Linked DNA regions of Homo sapiens: regions 1 and 3 are each linked to region 2. The links are contacts of gene promoters, found by promoter capture Hi-C in human tissues and cell types (Jung and others, 2019). All regions are on one chromosome and are shown on one strand. The core of a region is centred on a gene start or on the middle of the fragment in contact, and the rest is flanking DNA. Distances in the headings are between cores, read along the strand shown.

What was found. Contacts are between HindIII fragments. The study calls those that stand out against the background at their distance.
Region 1: a fragment that was not itself captured here is called in contact with the fragment with the promoter of KLRG2 in region 2 in 2 of the 25 tissues and cell types used here (heart left ventricle and neural progenitor cells).
Region 3: a fragment that was not itself captured here is called in contact with the fragment with the promoter of KLRG2 in region 2 in 2 of the 25 tissues and cell types used here (mesenchymal stem cells and spleen).

The regions. Positions count from the first base shown.
Region 1 is chr7:139,568,163-139,571,195 of GRCh38, forward strand. HIPK2 (homeodomain interacting protein kinase 2) reads right to left here. Exons shown (of 15, transcript NM_022740.5): 15 at 1-3,033. Among named protein-coding and RNA genes, the nearest start is that of CLEC2L, 46 kb to the left of the region's middle. RefSeq lists enhancers at 428-928, 929-1,429. The HindIII fragment of the contact is 8,657 bases long and covers 1-3,033 here.
Region 2 is chr7:139,482,243-139,485,358 of GRCh38, forward strand. KLRG2 (killer cell lectin like receptor G2) reads right to left here and starts at 1,431. Exons shown (of 5, transcript NM_198508.4): 1 at 644-1,431. The coding sequence starts at 1,400. RefSeq lists an enhancer at 591-670 and silencers at 801-1,080, 1,541-1,600. The HindIII fragment of the contact is 6,160 bases long and covers 1-3,116 here.
Region 3 is chr7:139,391,917-139,394,875 of GRCh38, forward strand. All of the region lies in intron 3 of FMC1-LUC7L2 (FMC1-LUC7L2 readthrough), which reads left to right. The region is part of intron 2 of LUC7L2 (LUC7 like 2, pre-mRNA splicing factor); the gene reads left to right. Among named protein-coding and RNA genes, the nearest start is that of LUC7L2, 34 kb to the left of the region's middle. The HindIII fragment of the contact is 3,512 bases long and covers 1-2,959 here.

The DNA of each region.
Region 1 (3,033 bases), core at 239-2,738, 86 kb after region 2:
TCCGTCTCACACGTTGGTGTCTGGGCGGGCTGAGTCTTCTAGGTTGAAGAGGACAAAGGTCAGCTGGCTCCCCCAGCCCGTGAACACCTCAGCCACCAGGAAGACTAGAAAGGCTAACAGTCCAGGAGATGAATGCCGCTTTGCTCCAACCCTTCTTTTTCCTCTGAATTCCACTGACCGCACGCTCCACTTCACAGTATTAACTGGCATCAAGCCTCGACTCTCCCACCCCTTGATCTGCTCACCCACTTCCCTTGGAAACATCCAAAACATCATGAAGAGGCCCTAAGCACAGAGACATGGGGGCCCACGTCCAGACGGGCCAGTCAGAACCCAGTGAGCAGAAGCAAATTGCCCTGCGGTTCACCAGGCTCCAGTTAAACACTCCTCCGTGACCTGACATTTCAAATCTTCCCCTCTTCCTCTGAACAATGTCTCTTCAAATGGGAAGGAGGGAGCCCACAAAAGACTAGAGGATGCTCTAGATGATTCGTGGGCTAAGTAAGGACTAGGTTGGCATCCCTCTGCTTGAGAGCTTGGTCCTAGTGACAGCAGCCTATTTGCTAAGGTGACTCAATGGCAGATTCGGCCAGGTATGCAATTGGGCATCCAGGGAGCTGGCCTCTCCTGCAGGGAGCTTCTCTTGGGGCTTCTGATGTGGCAGCTCCATGCATGGGGGTAGAGGAGGCCATTGGGTGAGGACTAGGAGAATGTGCACTAATGTTTGCTGAGCGTCTGTGGGGCTGGCATCGCCCAATACTTCCCTTCCCTTCCCTTCGGTGAAGCTGGCTATTTCACCCCTTTCTTCAACTGGGGCCTAGCACTTTGTGGGTCTGGGGACAGCGTGTGAGCACCCAGCGCACACAGCACAGTGCACTGAAGATGTGGCCGGAGCCCAGTGGGGATGCTTTCAGAGGGGGTGCAGCCTGTGATGCCTGAGCAGCCGCCCAGCTTTGTTCAGGGTTTCTCTGGCCTCCTGCTGTCCCTCCACCCACTTCCAGCTGGCTAGAATTGGGTGCTGGGGGCATGCATCACAGGGGGAGGGGGCAGGCTGAGGAACTGGGTGGTGTGGTGAAATTTCCTGGGGAAGGTACCACCTGCCAGTCACTCTTACGCCACCTCACTGTGCCCAGCAGCTTCTGGGAGGGGGCAAATGTCCCTGCATTGAAGAACCTAAGCCACGCCCCAGGTGCGCCGATGGCAAAAGGATGGATTGTGGGGAAGCGGATGGGGTCACCTCTGGGAGGGAATTTTCTTGCTTAAATACCAGAGGCAAGCCAAAGATTTAGTTAACAGATTTCAGAAGCACAGGAGAGCTCTGAGGATGTGGGAGAGAAGCTGGCTAAGGGCTGGACAGTCAGTGACTCGACATTCCCCGAGCCCATGAGATGCCACCTGACGTCGCATCCCAGGCCTCTGGGATCTAGAAAATGACAACCTTGATGGTGACCATGTTGTCAGAAGCCCAATCAAGGCTTTGATTCTTCTTTAAACTTTTGTTCTGTGGTGGATCTTTCTTGACGTCTCTTGTTGGGATAGAGATGACAGAAACAATTTTCCTACTTCCTAAGTCTTTCCTTTTTTTTTTTGCCTGACAAAACTGGACATCTGGATGTCCCTCCAGTCTACTTATATACTCACAGAGAGAATAAGTTTAAATATTAAAGAGAAAACACAAAGATACTTGGAATAAATGTGCATTTAAAACCCTGACTAAAATATCAACATAATGATCATAATTACAATGGTAATAAAAATAATTAGTACAATAATATTATCTTTATGAGCAGCATGGAAATTTCATTCCTGATCTGGAAGAATAAAAGGAAAGAAAATGTCAGGTGAAAGAGTAAGTAGCCTCCAACTTAAGCAGACAGAATAATTTTCTTTAAAATGAAAAGAACATTTTAAGCTGTCTTTCCCCCTAAAAGATCAGATCTAGAAAGGGCTGGAAATGAACTGTGCCCAGGAATCTGGGGGTGCTCTCCAGTAAGGCGAACTGAGGCTCATTTGCAGCCAAGACTTGGAACTCGGGATGAGACCTAATGGGCTATTGCTGCCATCTGGCTGCCAAAAAGTCCCTAATAGATGGATTTTCCAGGCTGACCCAGCTGTGGGGCGGGGGGGGGTCCTCTGGCTTCTGTGTCCTCTGAAGCGTTTGCTGCCCTCACCCTCTCTGAACTGACCATTGTCCTGCTGTCTCAGAGGGCTGCGCTTCCCCACCTCCAGATAAAGACAGTATTGATAATGGCCCGAGGGAAGGGAATCTCCTTGCTGCAGGCCTCTTGCCGGCACAGCCTCCAGCAGGCACTTGGCAAGACTGCCCGGCTGTGCCCAGCATGGAGCAGTCATGGTGTCCTTCCTTCTCGCTGAGGCCTGGACTAAGCTGTTTCCAGTTTGGGGACCTGTTTCTTTATAAGTAAGAATTTATGGTTGGGGTGGGGAAGTTTCCAGAGTTATTTCACAGCTAAGAGCTAAGTAACGACTTCGTTACTGAGTTAGGTTGGATATCACTACAAACACACCTTTCACAGTAGATCCTTGAGGGAGACTGCACAGTGAGGAAGTAAAGGGAGGGAGGATGAGGATGGGGCCGCTGACTCGGGAAAGATCTCTTTGCACCTTGGAAACCTGCCTGTGGGGTCAGCTAAAGACTCAACATCAGAAGCAAACAATTAGAACCACCCTTTTCGGCCCCATCCTTGGCCAGATTCTCCTGCCATTCACATTCACATATTTCAGAGTTATTTACTATGAAGAGAGGGAACTCCCCACTTCTCCACACCTCCATCCCCAGAAGTGTCCAAAGCCTGAGAAAACTTCCAGAATGTATCAAAGGTGCAAAGAGGGCAAAGGGCAGATTTCTTTGGAAATTCAACTGTGTGAGTTTTTCCAAAGTGCAGCGTCAGACCCCCGGCCACCCTCATAAGTGTCCCTCCAACCTTCTGCCCACTAGAACCCTCAGAAACCAAAACCAAAATCATGTCTTGAGCAGACCTGGGTAATGTGAGGAGAGAATTCAACAGCAAACAG
Region 2 (3,116 bases), core at 181-2,680:
ATCTGGGCTGCCACCCCTGCCACCTGATCCTGAATGACTTCCCCTCATCTGGAGTTCCTTCCACTGCTACTTCTCAAAGGTGCTGCGCATGCTAAGAGGGAATTTGAAAGTTCGGGAGTGCGGGTAGGGGAGGATGAGAAGGGGAGTGGCTTTACTCTTTTTTTTTTGAGACGGAGTTTCTCTCTTGTTGCCCAGGCTGGAGTACAATGGCATGATCTCGGCCCACTGCAACCTCCGCTTCTCGGGTTCAAGCGACTCTCCTGTCTCAGCCTCCTGAGTAGCTGGGATTACAGGTGAATGCCACCATGCCAGGCTAATTTTTGTATTTTTAGTAGAGACGGGGTTTCATCATATTGGTCAGGCTGGTCTCGAACTCCTGACCTCAGGTGATCCGCCCGCCTCGGCTTCCCAAAGTGCTGGGATTACAGGCGTGAGACACGGCAACAATGTGAATTACAGTTACGTAGACAGGAATGTTATTGATTGTAAGCCCGAGAGGCCAGATCGGGTTGGGGATCGGGATGGCCAACTGGGTCCCTTAGTCGGTCAGCTGCCCAGCGGTCCAGGGCTGGGCGGGTGTGGGGGTTTCGGCTACGTCCACCCGACCTGGCGGCGTCGGCTGCCGGCGCAGGTGAGCACTCACCCGTAAGCGTTACGGCCCGGGGCAGCTTCTCGTCGCCGTCCAACCCCGCGCGGGGCAACAGCGCCGCATCCTCCTTCTCCAGCCCCAGCTCCTTGCAGCGGCAGCACGTGGGGGAGCCCGGGGAGCCGGCGCTTCCTTCCGCGGGGCTGGCCCGGCCCTCTGCGTCGCAGCCGCTCTCCGTCCGGGCTGCAGCCAGCGGCGAGCGGCGGCCCCACGTGCCGCCCTGGGATGGTGCGCGCAGCAGGAGCTGGTGCGCCGGGTCCGCGTGGCGGGAGAAGGCAGGGGACTCGGGCACCGGCACCTTGAGGAAGCGCGTGGAGGGCCTGGGCGATGGCGTGCTGCTGCCACCGGCCGCGCCCACGGGCTTCACGCGCACATCTACCTGCAGCTCCATGGGCGCCCAGGCGCTGGGCGCAGGCTCAGCCCCGGGCGCCTCGCCATTCCGGGGCAGCTTGACCAAGGCAGGGCCCGGTGACGGCGGCTCGGGGCAGACCCCGTAGCCCAGGCTGAGCGGCGGCACGCGCGGGGACCCGGGGCGAGGCGAAGGCGGCTTTTTCTTGCTCGAGGGCTCCAGGCCTGCGCCCGCCGCCTTCTCCACGGCCCCGGCCGGACTTGGGCTGCTTTCGGGACCTTCAGGTTGTCGCACCTTCGCGGGCACCTGCGGCTGCTCCAGCGTGGGGACCAGGCTTCCCACGGGCTCCATTGGGAGCTCTGCCCCGGCTTGGCCTCCGGGCGCAGCCTCCCAAGACTCCTCCATCCCGCGCGCCCCGCCACCCGGAGACGCTGAGGAGCGCACCTGGGCCCAGTGCAGAGGAGCTTCGCTCTCCTCCGTCCGGATTGGTCCAGCCGCGTCGCCGAAGTTGTCAGGCCACGCCCCTCCCCGAAGGACCCCGCTGTGATTGGCTGTGGCTGAGGTTCTGCTGCCCCGACCCCCTTCGGGACACAGCCCCGGCCTCCACCAGGCACTGGGAGGGAGCTGAGAACGGCAGCGGGGCCAGGCGAGGGTTGCAGGGTGGGCGGGAGCTCTCGGGAGAAAAGCAGAACACCAGCGGAGGCTTGTGGCAGGGAACCCGGAGCCCCGCCTGACCCTTCCCTCTTCTTTGTCTCTGACCTCACCCATTTTCCCCTCCAGCCCTATGCCGGGGTGTTGGTTTTGAGAGTTACAGTTTGGGCGGGGAAGGATTGGCCAAGCCTGTCTGGATCCTGGGACCTCAGAGAAATCAGAATCCAAAGGAATTGGGGCGACCTGTGGAAAAGTAGCCCAGTTGGTTGTCCTGACAATCCAGCAGGGTTTCGAAAGGACTCTCCATCATACTTGGGAGGACTCCCCCACTGAGTAACGCTAAGAGAAAAGAAACAGGGCGTGGATAAGCAATTCTTCTTTTTTTTTTTTTTTTTGAGACGGAGTCTTGCTCTGTCGCCAGGCTGGAGTGCAGTGGCCCGATCTCGGCTCACTGCAATCTCCGCCTCCCAGGTTCAAGCGATTCTCCTGCCTCAGCCTCGTGAGTAGCTGGGACTACAGGCACCCACCCCACCACGCCCGGCTAATTTTTGTATTTTTAGTAGAGACGGGGTTTCACCATGTTGGCCAGGATGGTCTCGATCTCCTGACCTCGTGATCTGCCCGCCTCGGCCTCCCAAAGTGCTGGGGTTACAGGCGTGAGCCACCGCGCCCCGCCTGGCCTCTGGTATTTTTAAGTGCCCCCAGGGTAGGGTTGGCAGATAAAATGCAGGCCACTCAGTTTAATTTGAATTTCAGTTAAACAAGGGATAGTTTTTAGCATAGTAGTCCTCCCTTATCCACTGGGATAGTTCCAAGACCTCCCAGTGAATGCCTGAAACTTTGGATAGCACCAAACCCTATATATACTGTTTTTTTCTATACAAGCGGTCTTCAAAAGGTTCATGGAAAATTCATACTATGAAAAAAACTATGCATGGATTTGAAAATTTTTTGGCACCAAAATAAATTTGTACTAACTTGTTATCACATGTCTCGACAAGATCTAGTTTGAGGCACTAAGAAGGATAAGACATCAGTTTGAAAAGAGCTCCTGTCAGAGCAACAAGGATTCTGCTAAATTTGAAGCAAGAATAATCATCACATTTATGGTGACATCATTGATATTTTTATGAAAAGCTCATGGGGACAATGCCCCCAAGAAACCAGCAGTTTGCAAATGGAAAACTCGTTTTAAGAAGGGATGAGGCCAGGCGTGGTGGCTCAGCCTGTAATCCCAGCACTTTGGGAGGCCGAGGCAGGTGGATCACTTGAGGTAAGGAGTTCGAGACCAGCCTGGCCAACATGCTGAAATCCTGTCTCTACTAAAAAAGCAAAAATTAAGCTGGGCGCGGCAGCTCACGCCTGTAATCCCAGCACTTTGGGAGGCCGAGGTGGGCGGATTGACTGAGCTCAAGAGTTCAAGACCAGCCTGGGCAACACAGTGAAACCCCGTCTCTACTAAAATACAAA
Region 3 (2,959 bases), core at 261-2,760, 90 kb before region 2:
TAATCATGCTCATTGCTTATAATTCAACCAGTACTAGAAAGTTCAAACAACCCTCATAGTAATATAGATTTGTAAATTCCAAAATTCGTATTTTATTATGTCTTTCTTTGCCACCTTCTCTTTTCTCCACTTGGTATATCAAGAACATCATTTTTAAAGGCTAAATAGACACTGTATGGCTATTCCATAGCTGAATCAACCAAACCTCTGTTGAGAGGCTCTTAAAATGTTTCTTCTTGTATAAAAAACAACATTGTTAAACTTTATTCTCCATTTATCTTTTTATAATTATTTCACTCTTAATTCCTTAGAAATAGAATTCCTTAGTCAAATTATCAGGTTTATTCAGTAGTCATGGTTTGTGCAAAACCTGGTCTTCTGGGAGGGATAAGTAAGAAAAATGGACCATTTTTCTAATGAAGCTTAAGAGTTTATTTGGGGAAATAACATTCACTTTTGGAATTTCAAAAGAAAAGTTAAAAATTCTTGACGATTTAACTTTGTTACCTTTGTTAGTAAAACAATATAAAATGCTGTGGAGCTATAAGTTACCAGGATCAGGTATAGTTATTTGGTCCACATTTCATGCAGTAATGGATTCAGAATGGAGAAGACAAAATGCAGAACTGAACTTAATTACAAATAAGCATTTTTTAAAAAATCTACAATCTAAGCATTTAGATGTAAAAATATTAAAAACCAAGAATAAGCTTGTGGAAGGAATTTAATTATGAAGTAAACTACTTGTCTTTTTTTGAGATGGAGTTTCGCTCTTGTTGCCCAGGCTGGAGTGCAATGGTGTGATCTTGGCTCACCGCAACCTCTGCCCCCCAGGTTCAAGCTATTCTGCCTCAGCCTCCCGAGTAGTTGGGATTACAGGCATGCACCACCACGCCCGGCTAATTTTGTATTTTTTTAGTAGAGACGAGGTTTCTCCATGTTGGTCAGGCTGTTCTCAAACTCCCAACCTCAGGTGATCTGCCCGCCTCGGCCTCACAAAGTGCTGGAATTATAGGCGTGAGCAACTGCACCCAGCAACTACTTGTTAAATTAAAAAAAAAATTTTAAGACCAGGTGTGGTGGCTCACGCCTGTAATCCCAGCACTTTGGGAGGCCGAGGCGGTTGAATTACCTGAGGTGAAGAGTTTTAGACCAGCCAGGCCAACATGATGAAACCCCAACTCTACTAAAAATACAAAAATTAGCCAGGTGTGGTGGTGCACACTTGTAATCCCAGCTAGTAGGGAGGCCGAGGCAGGAGAATTGCTTGAACCTGGGAGGCAGAGGTTGCAGTGAGCTGAGATTGCACCACTGCACTCCAGCCTGGGCAACAGAGCGAGACTCTGTCTCCAAAAAATTAGCCGGGTATGGTGATGTGTGCCTGTTGGTCCCAGCTACTCAGGTGTCAGGTGGCTTAAGCGGGAGGATTGCTTGACCCTGGGAGGTAGGGTTGCAGTGAGCTGAGATCATGCCATTGTACTCCAGACTGGGGGACAGAGTGAGGCCCTGTCTCTAAAAAAGTAAAAATAAATAAATAAATAATCATATATTTTGTGACAGAGTCTTACTCTGTTTCCCGGGCTGGAGTGCACGATCTCAGCTCACTGCAAACCTCTGCCTCCTGGGTTCAAGTGATTATTGTACCTCATCCTCCTGAGTAGCTGGGATTACAGGTGCCTGCCACCCTGTCCAGCTATTTTTTGTGTTTTTAGTAGAGATGGGGTTTCACCGTGTTGCCCAGGCTGGTCTCAAACTTCTGACCTCAAGTATCTGCCTGCCTTGGCCTCCCAAGGTGCTGGGATTTCAGGAGTGAGCCACCACACCTGACCATGTTTTAAATTTTAAGTACTTCTCATGTGCATAGCACAGTGCCAGAGTAGATGCTTAGTAGTCATCATGGTATGGACAGAGGAATATAGATGACTAGTATTCTGAAAATCTGCCTTGGCTATACCTACTGTCCCACTAGGTCCCTGAAGAGATAACCACTGAGGATATTCCACATACAAAAAAGCCTTCTTTATTATAATTAGGCCCTTGGTCCTAGGGCTTTGACACCAAAATCTACTATGATGAGTCAGGCTAGGCTATAAACTTGCAAGGACTTAGAGCCCAGAAAGTGACAAGCCCAACTAGCCTGCCTCTTGGAGGAAAAAAGAAGAATAGCTCAAAACACTTAAGAAGGTAAGGAGTCCAAGCAAAAGAGATAATCCAAGGAGAGGCTAAGAAGAACCTCCCTCCAGAAGCTCAGATCAGTTTTGTCCTGGAATTCATCTTGACCACTCTGGCTTGTTAATAAGCCGCCCTGTGCCAAATGTTCTTCTTTGCCCTCTTTCCTAGTTTGATTTATTCAACATAGGCACATCGTAGATAAAACAGAAGAATCCTTGCCCTATGGAGCTCACATTTTAGTGAGTTAATCTTACCCCTCTCATGCATCTTCCCCATGGCATGCCTTCCCCAAAAGGCTACTCTCACCAAAAAGTCCACCTCTACTATAGTGGTAAAATTGTATCTTTCTTGTGTTCATTTTGTTCTTAGTCTACATAGTTGCTTTTCTTCCTTTGGTTGGTTGTGTGATGTAACTTTAAAGAAGTGGAGGCAGGGAGCCTAGAATTATTGCAATAGAGACAGAGATGTTTAGGTTAAAAACAATGAGGCAAAATTTATGTGTTACTTTTAAGTTTTTGTTGAATACGGATTGGAAATGTAGTTGATCAGGGAACTGATGAAAGTAAGATAAAGGAGATACGGAAGAAAGGAAGTAGACAGCTGCTTTGAATCTCTGTGGTGAGCTTTCTTAGATGTTGTGGGGAATGACTTACTGAAAAATATTGAAAGGTAAGTTAGTACTGAAATAACCGGAACTAGCATGGTAAAGTGGAAGCAATATTAGACTAGGAATCAGTCTAACCAGATTTTCTGATAAGCACCCTGAGCAAGTCATTCTTTCTGTGCA